Regions from separate parts of the Homo sapiens genome. Here all the other regions are linked to region 1. Evidence: promoter capture Hi-C in 16 types of primary human blood cells and fetal thymus (Javierre and others, 2016). All regions are on one chromosome and are shown on one strand. Each heading gives the region's core, a stretch centred on a gene start or on the middle of the fragment in contact. The rest is flanking DNA. Distances are from core to core; before and after follow the strand shown. Region 1 holds the start of ACTR6 (actin related protein 6). Region 2 overlaps TMPO (thymopoietin). Region 3 overlaps IKBIP (IKBKB interacting protein). Region 4 holds the start of CHPT1 (choline phosphotransferase 1). Region 5 overlaps ARL1 (ARF like GTPase 1). Region 6 overlaps UTP20 (UTP20 small subunit processome component). Region 7 overlaps UTP20 (UTP20 small subunit processome component).

Region 1 (3,355 bases), core at 519-3,018:
GACAAACTAGAGCCATTATTAATTATACACACATGTATGCATACAAATGTGTCTGTATGTGTATACGAGATGACACTGGGATAATACTGTAAAAAAATGTTTTACACCTGCTTATTTCACTTATAATACTGTCAGCATTTTCTCTACATGTTTAAATGTTCTTTGAAGACATAATTTTAAGAAGCTTGAATTTGTTATCAGTCTCAGGTTGTATTTTGGTGTATTTAGCCAATATGCTATTCCTGATTATTTAGCTTCCTTCCCATTTTTTGGCTGCCTGTATACGATGACTATGAATAATACAAAGCACTTCTAATTAATTCTCTAGGTAATAACAGAATTGCTGTGTCATGGCCCGGTGCGGTGGCTCACACCTGTAATCCCAGCACTTTAGGAGGCTGAAGCAGGCAGATCACGAGGTCAGGAATTCCAGACCAGCATGGCCAAAATGGTGAAACCCCCGTCTCTACTAAAAATACAAAACTTAGCCAGGCGTGGTGGTGCGCAACTGTAGTCCCAGCTACTTGGGAGGCTGAGGCATGAGAATGGCTTGAACCCGGGAGGCAGAGGTTGCAGCGAGCCGAGATCGTGCCACTGCACTCCAGCCTGGACAAGAGAGCCAGACTCCCTCTCCAAAAAAAAAAAAAAAAATTGCTTTGTCAGCTGGGTGTAGGGCTCACGCCCCTAATACCAGCACTTTGGGAGGCCAACGCGGGTAGACTGCTTGAGGCCAGGGGCTCGAGACCGGCCTGGCCAACATGATGAAACCCCGTCTCTAACAAAAATACAAAAAATTCGCTGGGAGTGGTGGTGCACGCCTATAATCCCAGCTACTCTGGAGGCTGAGGCGGGAGAATCACTTGAATTCAGGCTGCAGTGAGCTGAGATCGCACCACGGCACTCCAGCCTCGGTGACAATGATAATGATACACATTGCCAAAACGTTTTCCAGAAAGATTGTAACAATTTACATTCCTACTCAGTTTGATTTCCCTCTTTCATTTCTGTTTCAAAAGAAATGAAAAAGAAGGAAAGGAGGGAGGAAGGAAAGAATTTTTTTTAATGCTCTGTTAATTTGATAAAGGAAAGGCGTGTCTTTAGGTTTGCTTATTTATTCAAACATATATTTTATGACTATACATGTTATGAATGCCATTGTATTAACAGTACTTCTGTTTAATTGACCTTACCAACTAGGTCGGCCAGTAGGCCAAAGTCTTCAAAGCCTCTAGATCCTAAGACCGTGATTTTTAGACTTTTGGAGGGTCATAGAACCCTTTGAGAATCTAATGAAACCTATAATCTTGTACCCAGGAAAATCCGCATACACCCAAACACCGTGCCCATAGTTTCCAAAGGCTGATGAACTTTACGGACCCTTCTGTCAGGAACGCATCTCTATAAGCCTATTTTCTTTGGCTATTTCCTGTTACGAAATAAAACATATATCCCACTTCCGGGGCCTCGCAGCCCAAAACTAAAACCAAAATCAATTTCAATTCAAAGCATCACAATCACCCACCCAGCTCCAACCAGGGAATCCCTCTGGCTAAGTCAGGGCCGCGCGGGGGTGTCTGCAGTTCATTGATGTCCGGAGATGAAACGTAGCACATGAAACCACTAGGCGTATATATCTTGTCCCTCGGAGAAAGAAAGTACTTACGACACATTTTCATGGCTGTAACCGATTTTGGCGTTGTAAGCTCCATTATCCAGCACTAAGGTCGTCATCTCACCACCAACCACACCGCAGCCGTAGTTGTTTTCCCTTTCCGACCCCTCTGCTCGAGCTTTTTCCGGTACTCTATGGTTTGTTGGGCGGAGCGTTAGGACGCGCCTCTGGTCACCTTAGCAACGGAGGACGCCGGAAGTCGGAGATGCTAAGCAGCACCGAATGTTAGGGGCTGTGCTTCCAAACTTAACCTGTTTATGTGGTGGCGAGATTTGACTACTATGTGCTTTCTCGCTCATTTCGTATTTGTTTTTAACTACGCAGATTAATTCGCGCAAGTTTTTTCTAATCCTGTAGAGAACCGGCTGCGTGTGTGTGTGTGTGTGTGTGTGTGTGTGTGTCTTCCAATCGCATTCTTCAGACGGTGACATTCTTTGAAGAAAAAAGTGCAAAACTTGCTCTTGGACTCACATTCATACTCTCCTCTTCCCCAGCCCACTTGCTCTTCAGGACGAAGCTGAGTGAGTCTTTCTCATCCAAAAAAGGCTTTTGGGCCGGACGCGGTGGCTCACGCCTGTAATCCCAGCACTTTAGGAGACCAAGGCAAGCAGATCACTTGAGGTCAGGAGCTTGAGACCAGCCTGACCAACACGGCGAAACCCCGTCTCTATTAAAAATACAAAAAGTAGCCGGGCGAGGTGGCGGGCGCCTGTAATCCCAAGTACTCGGGAGGCTGAGGCGGGAGAATTGCTTGAACCGGGGAGGCGGAGGTTGCAGTGAGCCGAGATGGCTCCACTACACTCCAGCCTGGGCGACAGAGCGAGACTCCGGCAGGGCGGGGACTTGGCAGGTGCGGGAGGCAGGACCTGGCTTCCGGGGCGTCGCGGGGGCAACGGCCAGCGGGCGGGGGCAAGGGCCAGCGGGCTAGGACAACTGCCAACGGGCTTGGAGGGGGGCGTTCTACAAATTCCAGGCCACTTTGAGCGCCTGAGAGAGGAGCGGGGCGGCGGGAAGGGGGCACCGCGGGGGCAGGGAGCGCAGCAGCCGCAGCGCGAAGGCGCGGGGGCCGGGGAACAAACGGTTGGCGCGCAGGCAGCCATACCGGGGCCGGAACCCGGGCAGAGGAGGGCAGCGACGGCGATGGGGAGGCTGCAGAGCCCGGGGCGGGTACCGCGCGGGAACCAGCGCGACTGCGTGGCTACCGCAGCCGTCGGTTCGTGTTGGACGGGCGCCGCTGCTGCCTCTGCTACTTCAAGAACCCCCACGACCCGCTGCCCCTCGGCCACCTGGACATAGCAGAAGCCTGCTTCAGCTACCAGCGCGCCGACGAGGCGGCGGAGCAGCCTGCGCACTTCCAGGTGCGCAGCGCGGGAGCCGCCACGGTGCTTGAGGTGGGAACTCGCGCCCTGCAAGCGCCTGGGCCCTTCTGTCGGCGCTCCTTGCCTCCCCTGGGGGCCTGCCCCATCCACCCTCCTTTCTCCAAGGCCTCCTCGCACCCTGCCAACGTCGGCCTGCCTTTCCCCACTTCTCCACATCCCGTCCTCGTTCCTATCTCCTCCCCTCCACCTGGGCTTAGGCCCGGGTGGCTGGGGCTACCCAGCCCAGTCTCCTTCCTCAGACACTTTGACCCATTATCTCCCTCTGCTCCTTCCCTCTGACCCCTCTCTAGTGTCTTCTCACCCC
Region 2 (3,355 bases), core at 294-2,793, 1.7 Mb after region 1:
CATCTCTACTAAAAATACAAAAATTAGCCAGGTGTGATGGCACACGCCTATAGTCCTAGCTACTCGGCAGGCTGAGGCTGGAGAATCACTTGAATTGGGGAGGCGGAGATTGCAGCGAGCCAAGATTGCGCCACTGCACTCCAGCCTGGGTGATAAGGCCAGACTTCGCCTAAAGAAAAAAAAGAAAGAAAGAAAATCAATTATATTTCCTTCAAACATAATGAAAAACATCAGCTGAACAAAGATATCTTAAATAAGTGACCAACAAATCTACATAAGGTAAGTCAGATAAATTAAAACCAAAAACGTGATTTTTTTTTTTTTGAGATGGAGTCTCACTCTGTTGCCCAGGCTAGAGTGCAGTGGCATGCCCTCCATCTCCCAGGTTCAAGAGATTCTCCTGCCTCAGCCTCCCAAGCAGCTGAAATTACAAGCGCGCAACACCATACCCGACTAACTAATTTTTGTATTTTTAGAAGAGACAGGATTTCACCATGTTGGCCAGGCTGGTCTCGAATTCCTGACCTCAGGTGATCCACCTGCCTCGGCCTCCCAAAGTGCTGGGATTACAGGTGTGAGCCACTGCACACAGTCAAACATGTGGTTTTTAATCTGTCAGGAAAAAAGTTCCAGAAAAGTGATGTCATTTTATAAATCTCAGATTTAATAAGGATAAAAAATTAGGAGACAGTGTGCTGTACATGATTAGCAGTTTCAGTCAGGAAAAAGGAAGCATCAGTTGCATTAAATTCTGCCTCCAGAAAGCTTTGTTCCTTTAAGTAGATCACTTAAGAGTTTCACTCAAAAATAGTACCTACTATGCTACCCGATGATCTCTAACGTATTTTTCAACTTCAAAACCCAACAGCTCTATGATATCACCGATGAGCTTCTCTAATTCCTTTAATCTCTACCTCTAGTATAAAGATGTTGAACCATAACAATATATTCTAGTGGGCACTTATTATGTATTACGTACTGAGTTGTGTTCCAAGTGTCTTTGCATTAACTTACAGAGTCCTAAAAATCTATGGAATAAAATGCTAATATCCCCATCTGACAACTCAGAAAACTGAGGTTCAAGCATGCTCTTCACTAACTCAGGAAATCTGCATGCTATGATATACATGTCACTTTCACTTATCTACCTTATTCGTTTCCCAAAATTATATTTTAGTAACATTGCACTATATTGCCCTGACATTAAAGACAAAAATTCAGAAATCATTTAATGGCTATTAATTACTAAGCACTAGACACTTCACATATGCAATGGCATGTACTCCTCAATCTGATTAAGTAGCTATTAGGTTATTCCTCTATTTCAGGTGAAAATAGAGGATCTTAGATTAAGACACTGTTCAGTGTCATATGAATAAGTGGCAGACCTGGAATTTGAATCTATAACTCTATTATTCACAAGTCTGTAAACTTAACACCTTATTATACAGTGGTGGTAAATTTGTGATTTAATTAACATTTCCTATTGGTAGCATGCTTTTATGTTCTTTTCCAGGTCTTCAAATATTTCCTATTGAGAATTCATAATTTGGCCAGGAGCAGCAGCTCACACCTACAATCCCAACGCTTTGGGAGGCCTAAGCAGGAGGATCCCTTGAGGCCAGGAATTCAAGACCAGCCTGGTCAACATAGTGAGACTATCTCTATAAAAATTTTAAAAATCAGCTAGGCATGGTGGCACACACCTGTAGTCCCAGCTATTCCAGAGGCTTGAGCCCAGGAGTTTGAGGCTGCAGTGAGCTATGATCATACCACTGCACTACAGTCTGAGGGACAGAGCGAGACCCTATCTCTTAAAAAAACAAACAAACACACAGACAGGCGTGGTGGCTCACGCCTGTAATCCCAGTACTTTAGGAGGCTAAGGGGGGCAGATCACAAAGTCAGGAAGGAGTTTGAGACCGGCCTGACCAACATGGTGAAACTGTCTCTACTAAAAATAAAAAAATTAGCTGGGCATGGTGGTGCACGCTTGTAATCCCAGCTCCTCAGGAGGCTGAGGCAGGAGAATCACTTGAACCCGGGAGGTGGAGGTTGCAGTGAGCCGAGATCGCGCCACTGCACTCCAGCCTGGATGACAGCGCAAGACTCCTTCTCAAACACACACTCATAATTCACCAGAACAGATCATTCAAGAATATTATGCTCCACTAGATCCAAATAGCTACACCTTCAGGCTCTGCCTCTTAAAACAAAAAGGCAGACTGCCAACTCTGTAAATGTTTATTTTTGTGTCCACAATCTAGGTAGTTTCAACACCTAAAAATATTGGTAGCAAGATACATAAAATAAAAAGCTTAGAAATAAGAAAACAAAATAAAAACAAAACTTTTAACATGCAAAGTTTTGTCACATTATACCAAGTGAATCCAAGAGACTATGGTAGAAGCTGAAATGAAACAATTTCTTATTTAATTAAAAATGTTCCCCATAGGCTGGGCACGGTGGCTCACGTCTGTAATCCCAGCACTCTGGGAGGCTGAGGCGGGAGGATCAGAAGATCAGGAGATCCAGACCATCCTGGCTAACACAGTGAAACTCCGTCTCTACTAAAAATACAAAAAAATTAGCCGGGGGTGGTGGCAGGTGCCACCACGTAGCCCCAGCTAATCGGGAGGCTGAGGCAGGAGAATGGCGTGAACCCAGGAGGCAGAGCTTGCAGTGAGTGGAGATCACGCCACTGCAGTCCAGCCTGGGTGACAGAGCGACACTCCGTCTCAAAAAAAAAAAAAAAAAAAAAAAAATTCCTCATAAACCCATGATTAAATAGAAGGTATATGCATGCAAATAGTTAATCTTGGCCAAATCCACATTAATGCTTGATTTGTCTTAAAATGTTAAAAATCTCCCTTATCTGCAACTCTCAAACATAATTTGGCTTTCTCCTATAATATAAATAAATATTCTTTTATTCCTTTTTACCACTCCATTATGCAGAAGATTATAAATATTCTTTAAGAAATATGACCTGGAGGCCGGGAGCGGTGGCTCATGCCTGTAATTCCAGAACTCTGGGAGGCCGAGGCGGGCAGATCACCAGATCAGGAGATAGAGACCATCCTGGCTAACAGTCTTTACTAAAAATACATAAAATTAGCCAGGCGTGGTGGCGGGCACCTGTAGTCTCAGCTAGGCAGAGCTTGCAGGGAGCCGAGATTGCACCACTGCACTCCAGCTGGGATGACAGACTGAGACTCCGTTTCAAAAAAAAAAAGGAAAAAAGAAATAAGACCTGGTATTGGCCGGGTGAGGTGGCTCACTCCTGTAATTCCAGCACTTTGGGAGGCCGAGGCAGGTGGATCACGAGGTCAGGAGTTCGAGACCAGCCTGACCA
Region 3 (3,355 bases), core at 373-2,872, 1.6 Mb after region 1:
ACTTGAAGGTATACCCTTTAGCAGACCCTAATTGCTTGTTTTTCACTCTCATCTAAATGGGAAGACTGGGAACTGCTCTCACTAGAATATGCCCCTGACTCATAAAAAGGAAATAAAGGACCTTATACCCTAACATGGATGCCAGTTTGAAAGCTTAGTTTTTCAGATCTGAAGCAGCTTTCTCAGCATATTTTCTTGACTTCTAGAAAATCAGTCATCTAGGCTGGGTGCGGTGGCTCACGCCTGTAATCACTTGAACCTGGGAGGTGGAGGTTGCAGTTAGCCAAGATCATGCCACTGCACTCCAGCCTAGGCAGCAGAGCGAGACCCTGTCTCAAAAAAAGGAAAGAAAGAAAAAAGCCGGGCGCGGTGGCTCACGCCTGTAATCCCAGCACTTTGGGAGGCTGAGGCAGGCGGAACATGAGGTCAAGAGATCGAGACCATTCTGGCCAACATGGTGAAACCCCATCTCTACTAAAAATACAAAAATTAGCTGGGTGTGTTGGCACACGCCTGTAGTCCCAGCTACTCGGGAGGCTGAGGCAAGAGAATCACTTGAACTCGGGAGGCAGAGGTTGCAGTAAGCCAAAATCGTGCCACTGCACTCCAGCCTGGTGACAGAGTGAGACTCCATCTCAAAAAAAACAAAAAGAAAGAAAAATCAATCATCTTCTTTAATGTTAAATGAATTAATATTTATCAAGTACTTAGAATAGTGTCTGGCACAAATAAGGGAAAAATAAAATATATTTTAACGCAGCACAGCACATATCACTTCATTTTTTTCATCACTAGTGCTGAGTCAGCTTTGTACTTTTTTCTTATATGCACCGTTCACATGTAGCAAGGATGAATTTTTTTTTATTTTAGTAAGAGGCTAATCAAAAAAAACTACTAATTATCAGAGATGATATTTCCACTAACATGACACAGGTTGTGTTTAAAGCTTGAATTTGAAAAGAAGTTCTGAGAAAGTTCATTAATGTATTTTTTGTAATGAATCAACCTTCATACGAAAGTCTCTTATAATAATGATTTCATTCTGAATAAACTCGCTAATCTATAGTATAGATCTATGGTGGAGTATTGGATAATAAAACTAGTCCCTGAAATGAACTGTGTTTCTTCTTTTACTTTTTTTTTTTCCCCCCTGGCAGGGAGGGACAGGAAGGCGTGAGGAGGGCAACTCTTATTTCTTTAGGGTGGTCTCTTTCTTAATAAGGTCTCTATCTGCTGGTCTTAGATATCCAATACTCTGGGGGAAAAAAAAAAAATCCTAAAAGCCAGAAATGAAACAGCCAATGAAAAAAGAATTATGTTCACCCTTCCATCTCAGAGAATTAGGATAATAGTGTTTTCTAATAACCAGAAGCTTTAAAGGTTCCTATTAATTTAAACACAGGAGAAAAGTCAATCTGTGCTAATAATGTAACCTGGGATCCCGTATAATAGAAATTAGCCAGCATCATCAAAAGAAATGTATTTCCTCCAGTATTGTAAACATTTGTCTAATTTAGCTTTGGACAGTTTTGTAGCTACGGTTAGCCTAATGATGCCATTTATGAATTCAAAGCATTACCACTTTTGCAAGGATGCACAAAGTTCAGATAACTGCATTTACTCAGAAAAGTCTTTCACCTCTCCATTAATCCTTGGGATCTTTAAATGATTGCCTTTCAGTGGAAATGAATTTCACAAAACATGGTCAGTCAGTATGGTTCTAAGTTTGGCTGTGCACTTAGATTACCTGAGAAGCTGTTGAGTTTCCAACATCCAAGCCACATCCCAAGCCAATTAAATCAGAATCTTTGTGAGACCCAGGCATCAGATTTGTTAAAGCTGCCAGGTTATTACAATATGTAGCAAAGCTTTTGAACCACTTGTCTCAGGACTGTGTTTAGGCAGGTACTTATGGTTCTGCTCCATTGCGTTTTGATGACTCAATATGCAAAGAATTTCAAGTGTTTTTTTCTGAGCCTAAAGAATTGAGTTAAAGTAGACAAAATGGTATTGGATCCAAGACAATTCTTTTATGCTTGCTCATTTCAAATCCTGTATAAACAGATGTTGATTTGTTGTTTTGAAGATTGAGATAGCTTTTTGGGCTTCCACCCATAATGAAGAATAAACTCCAATTTTAGAGTGACATCTCAAGTACACCTATACGAGTCACATCACTGAGTATAACCAATTGTGCAGTTTATACACTCTGCACTGATTGTGATCTATTGTCACTTTGGCAATGGCTTTTTTCTATTTTCATACCTCTTTTCACACCTCCTGCTATTTTGCAACTTCTAATTACTATCACTTCTCTCTTCTACTCCACTGCTTTTTATCAGTCAACTCTTCTACATTTCAGTTTTAAAATACTTTTTATAGACGACTCTTGTTTCGCCTACATTTCAGCATAAAAACACCTATTTTCTAGATATTACCCAATCATGGCCTTGTGAAAAACAGTAGAGATCAAAGATCTTGTTCTAAATTTTTCACTTTGTCCTCCTCTAAAATATTTCTTGTGCATGCATCTATTACAGATATCACACCATCTTATTTGGTGGGCTGTGAATTGTGAACAAGGGCAGTGCTTTACTCATCTTTGCATGAGTTAAACCAGTACCTACCACATGAAAATCTGTCAAAAGAAACTGATAAAAGCTGCATCTAGGCTGGACATGTTGACCCACACTTGTAATCCCAGCGCTTTGGGAGGCTGAGGGGAGGATCACTTGAGGCCAGGAATTCAAGACCACCTTGGGGCTGGGCACAGTGGCTCATGCCTGTAATCCTAGCACTTTGGGAGGCCAAGGCGGGCAGATCACTGGTCAGGAGTTCAAAACCAGCCTAGCCAACATGGTGAAACCCCATCTCTACTAAAAATATTAAAAAATTGGTGGGGCGTGGTGGCAGGTGCCTTTAATCCCAGCTACTTGGGAGGCTGAGGAGGAGAATCGCTTGAACCCAGGAGGCAAAGGTTGCAGTGAACCGAGATCGTGCCATTGCACTCCAGCCTGGGCAACAAGAGCAAAACTCCATCTAAAAAAAAAAAAAAATACCGGGCGTGGTGGCTCACGCCTGTAATCCCAGCACTTTGGGAGGCCAAGGCAGGTGGATCACAAGGTCAGGAGATCGAGAGCATCCTGGCTAACACAGTGAAACCCCGTCTTTACTAAAAATACAAAAAATTAGCCAGGCGTGGTGGCAGGCGCCTGTAGTCGTAGCTACTCGGGAGGCTGAGGCAGGAGAATAGCGTGAACCCAGGAGGCGGAGCTTGCAGTGAGCCTAGATCGCGCCACTGCACTCCAGCCTGGGCGACAGAGTGAGACTCCATCTCAAAAAAAAAAAAAAAAAG
Region 4 (3,355 bases), core at 242-2,741, 1.5 Mb before region 1:
AGCCTGGGTGACAGAGTAAACCCCTGTCTCAAAAACAACAACAAAATGGATGCATGCATGGAGGGCATGAAATATTTCCACTGTATTTCTGTTAATCCAACCTCAACCTCCATGAGTCCTCCACAAGGCCTACACTCAAATGATTATAAAGGGACTTCACTATTTGGAGCAGAGAATAGAAAGTAATGTCACAGAATGTGCAATGTAATATTTATCCCACGTAGTATAAACTATAGATGGGAGTGAACTCCACTCTGCCCCCTATCCCTCCACACTCAGCCCAAAGGGTGCTTCTGATGAACAGCTATCCAAAGCCTATATTTACTCCTTATTTTGTACAAAGGTCAAATGTAATTATTGCTAATAAAATGTTGGGGTTTTTTTAATCCCTAGGTTGTGATGACAAAAAAATTATTGCCTTGATAACATTCCAGTTTGTTTTTCTTGAAAAAGTCGATGAAGCAAAGAGGAAGTTACCTCTTAACTCATCTTTGATCAGTGCTACCGGTCATTTCAAGATCACTAGCTCAACCTTCCAGAAACGAACGGTTACGAAAGTATTCAAAGGGCGTCTCGGGCTTGGCACAAGTCCCTGTGCCAGGCAGGACGGAGATGGGGGTGTTCAGTCCCCAGTGTGCAAAGCACCCGACCGCGGGTCCGTCTCACAGGTTGGCGCCGCATGGGATAGCGGCTGGGCAGGCGCCCTCCGGCCCGTCCGCGGCCGTGGGGAGGATCTGCGCGGACATAGGACCTGGGGCAGTGACCTTAACAGCCCCTCCGCTGCCCAGGGGAGGCTTGGGATGGTCACGGGATTGGGATAGTGGCGTGACAGTCTCCAGGCGGCCCAGGGCGGACACCGCCCGGGGCAGTGGCCAGTCCGCCCCTCCGGGGCCCGGGAGAGGCTCAGCCGCGCGTGGGTCCGCCCTTCCCCCGGCGCCTCCAGCGACCCGCCCGCAGCGCATCTGGGGCCCGGCTCGGGCGATCGGCCAGCCCTACCTCTTCGGTGGCCGTGGGACAGTAGGAGATGAGCACGAGCGTGGTGACCACGTTGACGGCGAGCCCCAGCAGGGTGATGGAGTTGGGGGCCATCCAGAGCGGGATCCACTGGAGCAGCCAGGTCCAGTAGAGCTGCAGCGGCGGCTCGAGCAGCGAGACGCCCGCCGCGCTGTAGCGGTGCTCCTCCAGTCGCCGCAGCTGCGCCGCGCTCAGCGGCTCGCTCAGCGCCCTCAGCCAGCGCGGCGCGGACCCGGCCCCGGCGCCTGCCGCCATGGCCGCCTGAGGGCCCCGCCGCCGCCACCGAGCGCAGCCCGCGCCTGGCGCTGGGGGCAGGGAGAGGTGGAGGGAGAGGCTGGCGGCCGGGTCCTGCGACTGCCGGGCTGGACTCACCGGTCGGGCCCGCACGGCGGAGGTCGAGGTCAGGCCGGCCTGCCCGGCTGCCGGGGCCCCAGCCCCAGAAGCTGTGGGGCCGCGGCTGCGGCTCGCGGGTGGGGCGGGGCCTCGGGGAGGGGTCCGGCTGGGGGCGGGGCGGAGGGGGTCCTGCTAGGGGCGGGGAGGCGGGTGCCGCGCTCGCGGGTCACCCTCGGCGCCCGCCAACGGCAACTTGTTATCGGCGATCAAGGTCCTTGACTCCCCAGGGGCCGGCTGCACTGCGCCTGAGGTCTGATGTCTTAACCCACGGCGTCGGATTACGCCCTGAGGTCGTCTCCTCGCGGGCTGCACCACGACCGAGCCGGTTCCTCTCCTAGGGGTCGGAACACGACTCCGGTCGCCCAGTGTTAGCCACTGCAGGACCACGCTGCCCGCAGAGCCTGGGGGTTTTCGTGTGAGAACACAGTTTTGCAGGGCTCGGGTCACGGGGGTGACGGCCCCATCTGTCCTGCTTGGTAAAACACACAAGCACAATTCTCCCTTTCTGTACGGAGGAAGGCGGCCCTGCCATGTATTCGCTCTAGAGACCCATCACTGCGGATTCAGAGACCAAGGTTTTGAAACTGAAAATCAGGGCTTAGAAACACTAACAAGGAGACCGAATGGCTGAAACCCCGATACCTATTTTCTTCAGCGCATTTGATACCAACAAGGGTGAATATTTTTACACATACTCTTCCCTGGAATAAAGGGCAGGAGTGTCCTCCCCCTGCAAGGGGGAACAGGCTGGCTTGCCACACGCATTGGTAGGTCACCGGCCCCTTATCTCACAGTGCACTCACTTGGACAGGGGACATCTGTCATAAACACGTTCTGTTGCACAACCTGAGACAGGCCTGTCACTTGCTTTGCTCTTCACTTCATGGCTCTGATCTGCACGCACTTTCTAAGGCCTAGGACAAGCCAGAAATTGCTTCCAAGACACTTGTGTGGCGCAACCTCTATCGGCAAGTGCAGTTTGCCTCACGGGCTTCGTCAAACACTTGGCACAGGGGTCCACGAACTGCTGCCTGTGTGCCAGACCCAGCCCACCACCTGTTTTCCTACAGCCCTCCAGCTAAGTATGGTTTTGACATTTTTAAATGATTGGAAAAAATCAAAAGAATACAATTTTGTGTTGTGAAATTATATGAAATTCAAAGTTCAGTGCCACGAATAAAGCCATGTTTATTCCTTACCTATTGTTTGGCTGCCTTCATGCTACAAGGGCAGCAGAATTCAGTTGTGACAGACCGTATGGCTGGCAAAGCCTGGACTATGTCCTACTAGGCCCTTTAAGGAAAAAACTGGCAACCACTGCCTTAGAGCAATGAGGGTCTCTACAGACCAAGCGTATATGTCTTAGGAATATGGATCTCCTCATCTTTAGTGTGAAAAACGATGCTGACAAATGCAGGAAAGGAAATGGAATGATGGAGATCCACTTTTAACAATGCTGGTTTATGTGCAGTGAACTTGACAGTAACTACTTTTTAATTTACCGATGCCATGAACAGTCCAAGGAAAAAATCCTTTTCTAGATTAGCCGATTTCACTGTATTAAAGATAATTTTTAATGTACATCAAAAGACGTCATCAAGAGAATGAAAAGACAAGCCATAAACTGGGAAAAGGTATTTCCCTCAAAACCCACAATGAGTAGAACCCAGATTATGTAAAGAACTCCTAAAAATCAATCAGAATAAAAAATAATCAACTGGGCTATGTTCTGTTTCTATAGGAGAAGCCCTGGAACATGGTAATGTTCCAGGGTGCACTTATGAACATGAGTGAATTGCACAAGCATATGTTGACTGAAAAAAAAAAAGAAGCAGGTGTATTAGTCAGCTTGGATTGTCATAACAAAATACCACAGACTGAATAGCTTAGACAACAGGAATTTATTTCTCTCTCACATAAAAGAAGTACAGAATTGGCACTCCAAGAC
Region 5 (3,355 bases), core at 305-2,804, 1.2 Mb before region 1:
GTGAGATTGAAAGCTGCAGCCATGGCTGTGTCCATGCTGTAGTTTAGAACTGAAGTTTAGCTTTTTTTCTTTTGGTCTGTTTATTTGCTGCCAGCCAAAATTCTGCTTTTTATAGTACATCCACAACTGTACTTTCTAAATACAGCTTTCGAACACTTTTAACTACTCTATTATGAGGGGAGTTTAATATAATAGGATTTCCATTGAGCTAAAAATTATGTTTTCCTTTTTATTTCTTTTTTAAATTCTTTTTTTAATTTATTTGAGCTAAAATTATATACTTTATTTGCAGAACTGCTGGCTTTTAAAAAATATCCTGAAGATGGTATTGATCTTGCTAATTGATGTTTTGTGCACACACCTGCACATGTGTGGGGGAGCAGAGCATACTATTTCGTCTTAAATGGTATAAAATCTCAACCAATAATGTGATTCAACAATTACCATTTCTTTTTAACTCGAATCCTAAGACAAATTATATATATATATATTTTAAACTCTAATAACAGTTACCATTAATTGCTGTAACTCAATTAGATAGGATATTTTGAAGGTGGAATGTATTAGTCTACACATACCACTGATTTGATTTCTCTTCCAGCCATTGGATTTAATGTAGAGACGGTGACGTACAAAAACCTTAAATTCCAAGTCTGGGATTTAGGAGGACAGACAAGTATCAGGTATGGTACAAAGACCAGGTTATTTGGTAGTATTTGACATTTATTGATTCTTTTAAGGGTTAAAATCAGTAAACCCGAATATGTGTTCTATTGTAATTTAAATGGAGCCACCTAGTTTAAAATGAGGTAAAATTGGGAACTATTTCCTTAGAGCATCCATTGAGTTAAAACTTAAGGAAGCCCAGTTTTCCAGATACCTGTTTAATGAAAATCTTTTCACGAAAATCTCAAGACCTTATTACTTCAGCTATTCTCAATTAGAAAGGACCCTCCATTTAGTTCTTGTCAGTCTCTCCTCTCTGAAACACATTGTTTTGGAATTCATTAAAGTACCTTGCAGGCATACCATTTAGGGCTAATATAAAAATAAATGCCATTGGCCGGGCATGGTAGCTCACGCCTGTAATCCCAGCACTTTGGGAGGCCGAGGTGGGCGGATCATCAGGTCAGGAGTTGGAGACCAGCCTGACCAACATGGTGAAACCTCGTCTCTACTAAAAATACAAAAATTAGCTGGGCATGGTGGTGCGTGCCTATAATTCCAGCTACCTGGGAGGCTGAGGCAGGAGAATTGCTTGTACCAGGACTTGGGAGCTGGAGGTTGCAGTGAGCTGAGATCGCGCAACTGCACTCCAGCCTGGGCTACAGAGCAAGACTCTGTCTCAAAAAAAATAAATGAATAAATAAAAAATAAATGCCTTCTGAAGTTCAGGTCTTCTGCTTAGCATTTTGGGCTTGACATGGCAACAGTGAATGTTTGATGACCGTCAGTAGTTGGTCACGATAGTACCATCTTAAAAGATTAGTAATGCATTCTCCAAACATTCTGACTTCTTTTAACTCATTTCTTGAATCACGTTTCTTTTTTTTTAAATTGTGCAGCCTCCCAAGCCAGAGTAGGCTCAGAGAGACTCCATTGAATCACTTTTGAGTTTATTTATAATTTTAGCCATTTCTACTGCTTGATGTCAGTGATTAATTTCATGACTGTTAAATAAAATCACGTTTAAAAAGTTTATTCCTCTTAAGGGGTGCCTAGTTAAAGATTTGTTTAAGAAGATGTAATGATCAGGTCTGTGTACAACTTTTCTATCAGTATATTTAGTGATTTCATAGATTATAAATAAATTTTGTCAGCCTGAAGTCTGAATGAATTCATTTGGAAACTCCCTGGTCCTGTGAGTCAATGTTTATCAACATTCTTTTTTTTTTTTTTTTTTTTTTTTTTGAGACAGAGTTTCACTCTTGTTGCCCAGGCTGGAGTGCAATGGCACCATCTCAGCTCACTGGAACCTCTGCCTTCCTGGTTGAAGTGATTTTCCTGCCTCAGCCTCCCGAGTAGCTGGGATTACAGGCACCTGCCACCATGTCCAGCTAATTTTGTATTTTTAGTAGAGATGGGGTTTCTCCATGTTGGTCAGGCTGGTCTCGAACTCCCGACCTCAGTTGATCTGCCCTCCTCAGCCTCCTAAAATGCTGGGATTACAGATGTGAGCCACCGTGCCCAGCCAATGTTTATCAACATTCTTTTGACTCCATCACATCTGAGGGATATGGTACATATATCCACCAGAAACAGTGAATCATTAAGGCATTGATTCTAACATGTGTGGGACAGAATTGGCAATTGATATGTCAGTTTCTTCCTTAAAACAATAACAATATGTTCTCCCCTTTTAAATTTTCTCTAGGCCATACTGGAGATGTTACTATTCAAACACAGATGCAGTCATTTATGTAGTAGACAGTTGTGACCGAGACCGAATTGGCATTTCCAAATCAGAGTTAGTTGCCATGTTGGAGGTAAGAAAACGTAACCACTTTAAAATGTGGGGCAGTCATTTACATATTATTACATTGAAGAATAATTAAAAAGAATGCAGGGGTTGTTCCCTCCATCCTTTTAAAATTATTTTCTTTTATGGAAATGATTTTCTATTCCAAAAATACAGTTGAGGAGGGTTGGAGACAAAACAACAACAAAAATTAACCTCGTAACTTCCTCTTCAAGCCAGATTGCTTGATTTTCCAGGAGGTTCAGAAGAGCTCACTTAAACAAAAGCATCTATTCTAAGTCACTTCTTTGATGTGACTTTTAAAATATGTCTTTTTATTTTTAGCTGTTTTAGAAGGATTCAAGTTCAGAGAAATATGTATTTCTGGGTTACTGGCACAATGCTGGCCTCACGTTTATCGTTTTTTATCCTTCCCAGTGTTTACAGTGCTTTTGACCTTCTTTCTGTTCTTTGGACACGAGCTTGCACACCTGGCTCAGGGCCTTTTGCACTTGCTGATCCGTCTGCTTGGAATACTATTCTCCAGCATCTTTGCATGGCTGCCTTCCTGACGTGTTTCTTCCCACATCTCTTCCCCAGAAAGAAGTCTTATTTATTCTCTAATCCTTTACCCTTCTTTATTCTTTATACCGATATTGTTTCTTTTTTTTCTTTTTCTTTTTCTTTTTTTTTTCTTTTTTTTTGTAGAGACGGGGTCTACCTATGGTGCCCAGGCTGGTCCCAAACTCCTGTCCTCAAGTGATCCTCCTGCCTCGGCCTCCTAGTGTTGGGATTACAGGTGTGAGCCATTGCACCCCACTTACTGTTTTTTTACATTATTTTTAAATGTATTTGTTGGCTGGGCGTGGTGGCTCACGCCTGTAATCCCAGCACTTT
Region 6 (3,355 bases), core at 321-2,820, 1.2 Mb before region 1:
TTTGAGACCAAGACCAGCCTGGCATAACATAGACCACTATTCATCTCTCTCTCTTTTTTAAATGTATGTGTGTGTGTGTGTGTGTATATATATAAATATAAACATATATAAGTATATAATATATAATTAAAATATATATATAAATAAAAATAAATCTCAGGCAGGGAGGGAGGACAGAAAGGAAGAAGGAAACATTCAGGAGAGAAGTTAGAAATCCTCATGTGCAAAAGGCAGGAGAACAGACGAGGCAGGGTTACCTTGCTCTGAATAGGTGCTGTTGAGTTCCCGAAACAAAGGAGCTATGATCATTGGGAGATACGGCTTTACCTTGTCTATCCCAAGATCCATTGCTACGGCGCCGAGGAACTTAAAGATGCATGTTCTCTGAAAGTACAGATCATTTTTTTCATTTGAAAGACTTCTCTTTAGCACTCAATCATAGACACAGCATTAATTGAGAAAACAGGGCTCAGTCTATTTTGGGACGGATGTTATTGCTGCAGTTTGGGGTTCAAAGATAAAGTTTCTAGGGACTTAGGAGGATCACTAATATCATTAAAATACTTTTTAAAGAGAAATGACTACTGTCAGTCATTCTGTGCATTCATCGCACCTTTAAGGGGTTTCTCGGCGAATAAGCAGCTTCCAGTTTTGCAATCCGGGACAGCTTCTGGATCAACCACAGCAGCGTGGCCGGCCTGCCGAGCTCTTCCTTCACCTCTTCCTTCTCTTCTCCGTCAGACTCCGCCTTCTCATCTGCACAGGCCACACCATCTTCTAAAGCTTCTTGTTCTTCCAGGTCTTCTTTTATCTTACTTTGCTTATCCTCACAATAAAGTTCCAGTAAATACAAGACTTTGGCTGCGAACAACAAATTCTTAACAACCTTTAAAAAAAAACGGGGTGGGGGAAGAAATTGGACATTGATTTTGAAATAAATAAGGCTTAGTAGAGCATAAGCTAAAATAGGTATTCTACAATTAGAAAACAAAAACAAACTAGGTATTACAACTATTTAACAACTATTAAATGATGAAGGCTCCATTTTTAGATATTCCTTTTTTTTTTTTTTTTAAAGACAGAGCCTCACTCTGTTACCCAGGCTGAGGGCAGTGGTGCAATCTCGGCTCACTGTGACATCCCCCTCCCAGGTTTAAATGATTCTCATGCCTCAGCCTCCTGAGAAGCTGGGATTACAGGCGTGCACCACCATGCCTGGCTAATTTTTATACTTTTAGTAGAGACGGGGTTTCGCCATGTTGGCCAGGCTGGTCTCAAACTCCTGACCTCAGGTGATCTGCCTGCTTCAGCTTCCCAAAGTGATGCGATTACAGGTGTGAGCCACCGTGCCTGGCCTAGATCATTCTTAAGTTCTTCCTCATAGGGCATCCAAACCCATTTCCATGTAACTTTGATCTATCTGGACTAGTTCTACCCTTTAAAGTCACACAGAATAAGGAAACAATTTCCTTCTAGGCCCTCCATTTACATTTTTTGTTTTGTTTTGTTTTGTTTTTTGGGTATTTTTTGAGACAGAGTCTCACTTTGTTACCCAGGCTGGAGTGCAGTGGTGCGATCTCGGCTCAGTGAAACCTCTGCCTCTGGGTTCAAGCAATTCTTATGCCTCAGCCACCCCAGCAACTGGGACTACAGGCTACCGTGCTCAGCTAATTTTTGTATTTTTAGTAGAGACAGGGTTTCGCCATGTTGGCCAGGCTGGTCTTGAACTCCTGGCCTCGAGAGATCTGCTCATCTCGGCCTCCTGAAGTGCTGATGTTACAGGTGAGAGTCACCACACCAGCCCCATTTTACATTTTTAACAACAGCTTTCATCTCTACCTCCATTAAATTCCTTCCGCCATTCTACATAGAAATAACTATTTCTCTCTCTTTTTTTTTTTTTTTTTTGATACAGAGTCTAGCTCTGTTGCCCAGGCTGGAGTGCAGTGTGGTGATTTTGGCTTAGTGCAACCTCTGCCTCCCCAGTTCAAGTGAGTCTCTTGCCTCAGCCTCCTGTGTAGCTGGGACTACAGGCATGCGCCACCATGCCCAGCTAATTTTTGTCTTTTTAGTAGAGATGAAGTTTCACCATATTGGCCAAGATGGTCTTGAACTCCTGGCCTCAAGTGATGCACCTGCCTCGGCCTCCCAAAGTGCTGGGATTATAGGCGTGAGTCACCGCACCCAGACCCTTATTGGGAATTTTAAATGGAGCAAAGAGTAATCCCAATACAGACCCAGTGTTGACAAGACATATGTGTATTTGAACATATATTTGAGTGTATGTCTGTATTTCATCTAATCCCCCAAGCATTAAGATAGGTTCAAAACAAAACAAAATAACAAATGTAAGCTTAGACTGTTGATAGAATAGGCCCCTTCTTTATTTCTGAGACGGAGTCTCGCTCTGTCACCTAGGATGGAGTGCAGTGGCGTGATTTCGGCTTACTGCATCCTCCGCCTCCCACGTTCAAGCAATTCTCCCTGCCTCAGCCTCCCAAGTAGCTCGGATTACAGGCACCCGCAACCATGCCCTGCTAATTTTTTTGTATTTTTAGTAGAGATGGGGTTTCGCCATGTTGGCCAGGCTCATCTCGAACTCCTGACCTCGGGGTGATCTGGCCGCCTCGGCCTCTCAAAGTGCTGGGATTACAGGCGCGAGCCACCATGCCCAGCCGGCCCCTTCTTTTAAACTGGGAGAACTACAATTCTTACCTGTTCTCCTAGAGACTGATCCAAGAATTTGGAATGCAATTGATGGCAAGAGGCGAGAGAGATACTTTTCATCTGTGAAAAGAAAATGGACATTGGTAGACAAAACACAGGACATTTCTGATTGTTTTTAAAAAGCTAAACATAATAACTGTAATACAACTAACGTACTGGATTTTGCTCTGAATGACCACCTGTATAGATTTGGAGAGGAAAGGTTCATGACCAGAAGTGGTGTACTGCTCCCTTCTACCTGCCCTAAGCATTTCATCCCAAATAAATGGGATACTTTCACATTTTGGGGAGAAACAGGTAATAATACTCTACATTTTTTTTTTTTTTTTTTTTTTTAAGACAGAGTCTCACTCTGTGGCCCGGGCTGGACTGCACTGGAGTGATCTCGGCTCACTGCAACCTCTGCTTCCTGGGGTCAAGCAATTCTCCTGCCTTAGCCTCCCAAGTAGCTGGGATTACAGGCACCTACCACCACACCCAGCTAATTTTTTGTATTTTTAGTAGTGATGGGGTTTCGCCATGTTGGCCAGGCTGGTCTCGAACTCCTGACCTCAGGTGATCCACCCACCTCGGCCTCCCAATGTGTTGGGATTACAGGCATGAGCCACCACACCCGGCCAATCCTCTA
Region 7 (3,355 bases), core at 557-3,056, 1.1 Mb before region 1:
ACAATGGACCCAAAGCATTTACACTTCTTAGGAAAAGGCAGAGAAAAGCGACACTATTATTAACTGTGGTTTGTGATACCACCAAAGAAATTAGAATCCAGGAAATGATCATCTTAACACAAATTTCAATGATGATCATAAAGACCAAGGAAAGAGAAGCTTAAACCTTTTTGGAAAGTTAAAACATGTCTTTCCAAATGAGGTAGAACTGTTTGAAATATGTATGCTTATGTCGTAGGTAGGAAAAAGCAGAATTGTCTTCTACCTGAATGTGCTTCATGTTCTCAAAGAAGTCCATTTCTGGGTCATGGTAATGAGTAAGTTGTACCAAGTCTTTGAATTCCAGTTGGTTTGGAAAGGTTTGAATTAAACAGGAAAGTATTGTGGTATAATCCTGCTGAATACTCTGTAAATATGAAGTGGAGAAAAAACATTTTATTTTAAAAAGAATTTGTTTCTAATATGAGGAAACAGAAAAAAACATAAAATTTTAAAAAGTAAAATATTTCCACTGTTAAAAAAAAAAGTCAGGATTGCTTGAGCCCAGGAGTTTGAGGACAGCCTGGACAACATGGTGAAATCCTGTCTCTACAAAAAATACAAAAATCAGCCAGGTGTGGTGGTGTACTCCAGCCTAGGCAACAAAGTGAGCCCCTGTCTCAAAAACAAAAAACAAAAAAAACCTGACAGCTATATTAGATCCAAAGTGACTGGTGGCCAGGCATGGTGCTCATACCTGTAATCCCAGCAATTTGGGAGGCCAAGGCAGGTGGATCACTTGAGGTCAGGAGTTCGGGACCAGCTTGGCCAACATGGTGAAACCCCGTCTCTACTAAAAATACAAAAATTAGCTGGGCGTGGTGGCATGTGCCTGTAATCCCGGCTACTCTGGAGGCTGAGGCAGGAGAATCACTTGAACCCGGGAGGCGGAGGTTGCAGTGAGCCAAGATCACGCCACTGTAGTCCAGCCTGGGCAACAGAGCGAGACTCCGTCTCAAAAAAAAAAAAAAAAAAAAAAAAAAAAAGCAAAAAAAAGTGCTCTCCTTTCTAGACCCACTCCCATTAAAAGTCTGGTGACTATTTACTCAACCAAGTATTCTCATTAAATGCACTAAGCCTGACTACTTTTCTATACAACAGTAGCAAACGTGGGAAAACAAAACAAAACACAGCCTCAGACAGTAGTGCCTAAAACACAAAGTTATATACCTCTGTCTGGCTCTTCAGACCTTTTCTCAATTTCTCCAGGAGTGAACGGTGGATGATTTCTCTATAGTCTTTCTCTGTGACATTCAAGGCAGCTAGCTTTTTGATGATACTCATCAGGCACATGCTGGCATTATCACTTAAACTCATATCTCCTAACTGCAAAAAAGAGAAATAAAAAAGAAATTATTCTCTGTAATAACTACAATATGGAATATTACTTCCCAGTGCAAGCATCTACAAAATTCTGTCACTGTGCTTGTAAAAATGCCTACTAAACAAGTTCCCACAAATATTTCAAACCTAAGGGAGAACCAAATGTTCTGTGAGGAATATAATACTGTAAAAGGCTGAAAAACCACGCTTCCCAAGAAGTGTCATTTAATTTCAGGCAGCACTATGAAATGTCCTTGTTAATTAGTTTTACTTCCCAAAGCAGGCAGTCTAAAAGGTTCACTAAAGCCAGTTTTCAATATTCAGTATCCGGTCATTACTGAAAATGACAGAATTGGCTGCTCCAGAGTTTGTGGTTTGAAGAATGTCAAAGTGAGTGTAGGGAAGGTATCCTTGACTCAGCCAGCCAGGCAGCGACTTAGAATTTTTTGTGCTGAATTTTGGCATGATTATGAAGAATGAGTATAAAACAGGGAGATTATTTTTTCATATATTACGTAATCCTTAATATTAGATGAATAACTATAAAATGCCACAAAGAGATCACTGATGCCACTACATGATTAACAATAATCAAAGGTTTCATTTTCTGCATTTTTGGATTTTAATTTAGTTCAGCAACATAGCACTTAATATATTCCAAACACTTTTTAATTCTCTTATAACTTCAATAAAAAAGGGATAATTTTCAATTAGTATAGTTGCATGTTTAAAAATTGACATAATTGACACACCATAAAATTCACCCTTTTAAAAAACTTACTATTTGGCTGGGTGCGGTGGCCCACACCTATAATCCCAGCACTTTGGGAGGCCAAGATGGGCGGATCGCCTGAGGTCAGAAGTTCGAGACTAGCCTGGCCAACATGGTGAAACCTCGTCTCTAATAAAATGCAAAAATTAGGTGGGTGTGGTGGCGTGCCCCTGTAATCCCAGCTACTATTCGGGAGGCTGAGGTGGGAGAATTGGTTGAACCTGGCAGCAGAGGCTGCAGTGAACCAAGATCACATCACTGCACTCTAGCCTGGGTGACAGAACGAGATCCTGTCTCCAAAAAAAAAATTTACAATTCAGTGGTTTTAAGTATATTCACGAGGTTGTGTGATCATCACCACTAATTCCAGAACATTTTCATCACTCCCAAAAGAAACCCTATACCCATTAGAAATCACGCCCCATTCCTCCCTTTCTGCAGCCTTTAGTGACCTAATGTACTTCATCTCTATGGATTTCCCTATTCTAATACATAACTTCTTGATTTTTTTCAAAATGCTTTCATATGTATTATTTTATTCACAATATTTGCCTTTTAAATCATGAGAATAACTGTTTTGCCAGACATAAGATTCTTCATCTAAAAGAAATTTAATCCTAAAAACCTTTGTCCCCCCTCAAAAAACAAATTTAAAGATCAGGTCACTGTATTAGGCAGCCGTATTACCAAAACAATAAAAAATAATTTAAAAATTTTGCTATAATAACCTACCTCTAGATTATAGAAACAATTATGCATAACTGGAATTAGGTAGTTAACATCCACAATTTGCATTTCTTTAATGTAAGAGGTGATGGTCTGGAAAGTCTCAAAGCGAACGTCGAAGTTGATATCATCAAGATGTCTTTGATCGAAGGCGTTAAGCTATAAGAAATGCCATTGAAGTTATATAAAAGAAGGCATATAAATCTTCAGTAAACAAAAATGATAATACTTTTGAAGCCAAAGAGAAACCCTTCTTTCTTACCTTGACAACATCAGTAATATATTTTAACCCACTCTCAAAATCAGAAAGAGTCTGAAAGGAAAGAAAACAGTGTATTTATCAGTGAATAAAACTTTAACTTTTCTGCCCTCCTCCCCTCAGCTACCTGTCCCCATTCAAATTCATATAAAAACATCACCCTGGCATGAAGAAAGCCCCTAATATGGTTTACAAGTCATAATTACATTTTTTTAAAAGGGTGATTTGGAGTAAAA

Evidence for each region. Contacts are between HindIII fragments. The CHiCAGO score rates a contact against its expected background, and 5 or more counts as called.
Region 2: a contact is called between a fragment that was not itself captured here and the fragment with the promoter of ACTR6 in region 1, in 1 of 17 cell types (naive CD8 T cells). The highest score is 6.0, in naive CD8 T cells.
Region 3: a fragment that was not itself captured here is called in contact with the fragment with the promoter of ACTR6 in region 1 in 1 of 17 cell types (total B cells); the score reaches 5.9 in total B cells.
Region 4: the fragment with the promoter of CHPT1 here is called in contact with the fragment with the promoter of ACTR6 in region 1 in 1 of 17 cell types (neutrophils); the score reaches 6.7 in neutrophils.
Region 5: a fragment that was not itself captured here is called in contact with the fragment with the promoter of ACTR6 in region 1 in 2 of 17 cell types (naive CD8 T cells and activated CD4 T cells); the score reaches 6.5 in naive CD8 T cells.
Region 6: a fragment that was not itself captured here is called in contact with the fragment with the promoter of ACTR6 in region 1 in 3 of 17 cell types (naive CD8 T cells, total CD4 T cells and naive CD4 T cells); the score reaches 9.1 in naive CD8 T cells.
Region 7: a fragment that was not itself captured here is called in contact with the fragment with the promoter of ACTR6 in region 1 in 2 of 17 cell types (total CD4 T cells and naive CD4 T cells); the score reaches 7.4 in total CD4 T cells.

What each region holds. Positions count from the first base shown.
Region 1 is chr12:100,199,228-100,202,582 of GRCh38, reverse strand. It overlaps ACTR6 (actin related protein 6), which reads right to left and starts at 1,768. Exons shown (of 11, transcript NM_022496.5): 1 at 1,664-1,768. The coding sequence starts at 1,731. RefSeq lists enhancers at 1-660, 1,505-1,704, 1,678-1,972 and a silencer at 2,465-2,824. The HindIII fragment of the contact is 11,223 bases long and covers 187-3,355 here.
Region 2 is chr12:98,520,511-98,523,865 of GRCh38, reverse strand. All of the region lies in intron 1 of TMPO (thymopoietin), which reads right to left. Among named protein-coding and RNA genes, the nearest start is that of TMPO-AS1, 6.0 kb to the right of the region's middle. The HindIII fragment of the contact is 1,552 bases long and covers 768-2,319 here.
Region 3 is chr12:98,634,710-98,638,064 of GRCh38, reverse strand. All of the region lies in intron 1 of IKBIP (IKBKB interacting protein), which reads left to right. Among named protein-coding and RNA genes, the nearest start is that of IKBIP, 8.4 kb to the left of the region's middle. RefSeq lists an enhancer at 595-764 and a silencer at 1,792-1,851. The HindIII fragment of the contact is 496 bases long and covers 1,375-1,870 here.
Region 4 is chr12:101,695,776-101,699,130 of GRCh38, reverse strand. CHPT1 (choline phosphotransferase 1) reads right to left here and starts at 1,491. Exons shown (of 9, transcript NM_020244.3): 1 at 997-1,491. The coding sequence starts at 1,269. It also overlaps a transcript of MYBPC1 not described here. RefSeq lists silencers at 758-947, 1,208-1,547 and an enhancer at 1,768-2,017. The HindIII fragment of the contact is 18,657 bases long and covers 1-3,355 here.
Region 5 is chr12:101,400,193-101,403,547 of GRCh38, reverse strand. ARL1 (ARF like GTPase 1) reads left to right here. Exons shown (of 6, transcript NM_001177.6): 3 at 602-683; 4 at 2,375-2,486. Among named protein-coding and RNA genes, the nearest start is that of ARL1, 5.9 kb to the left of the region's middle. The HindIII fragment of the contact is 9,104 bases long and covers 1-3,355 here.
Region 6 is chr12:101,380,572-101,383,926 of GRCh38, reverse strand. UTP20 (UTP20 small subunit processome component) reads right to left here. Exons shown (of 62, transcript NM_014503.3): 58 at 2,716-2,787; 59 at 614-886; 60 at 258-384. Among named protein-coding and RNA genes, the nearest start is that of ARL1, 26 kb to the left of the region's middle. The HindIII fragment of the contact is 1,570 bases long and covers 786-2,355 here.
Region 7 is chr12:101,342,605-101,345,959 of GRCh38, reverse strand. It overlaps UTP20 (UTP20 small subunit processome component), which reads right to left. Exons shown (of 62, transcript NM_014503.3): 34 at 3,123-3,173; 35 at 2,867-3,019; 36 at 1,210-1,365; 37 at 266-406. Among named protein-coding and RNA genes, the nearest start is that of ARL1, 63 kb to the left of the region's middle. The HindIII fragment of the contact is 3,290 bases long and covers 162-3,355 here.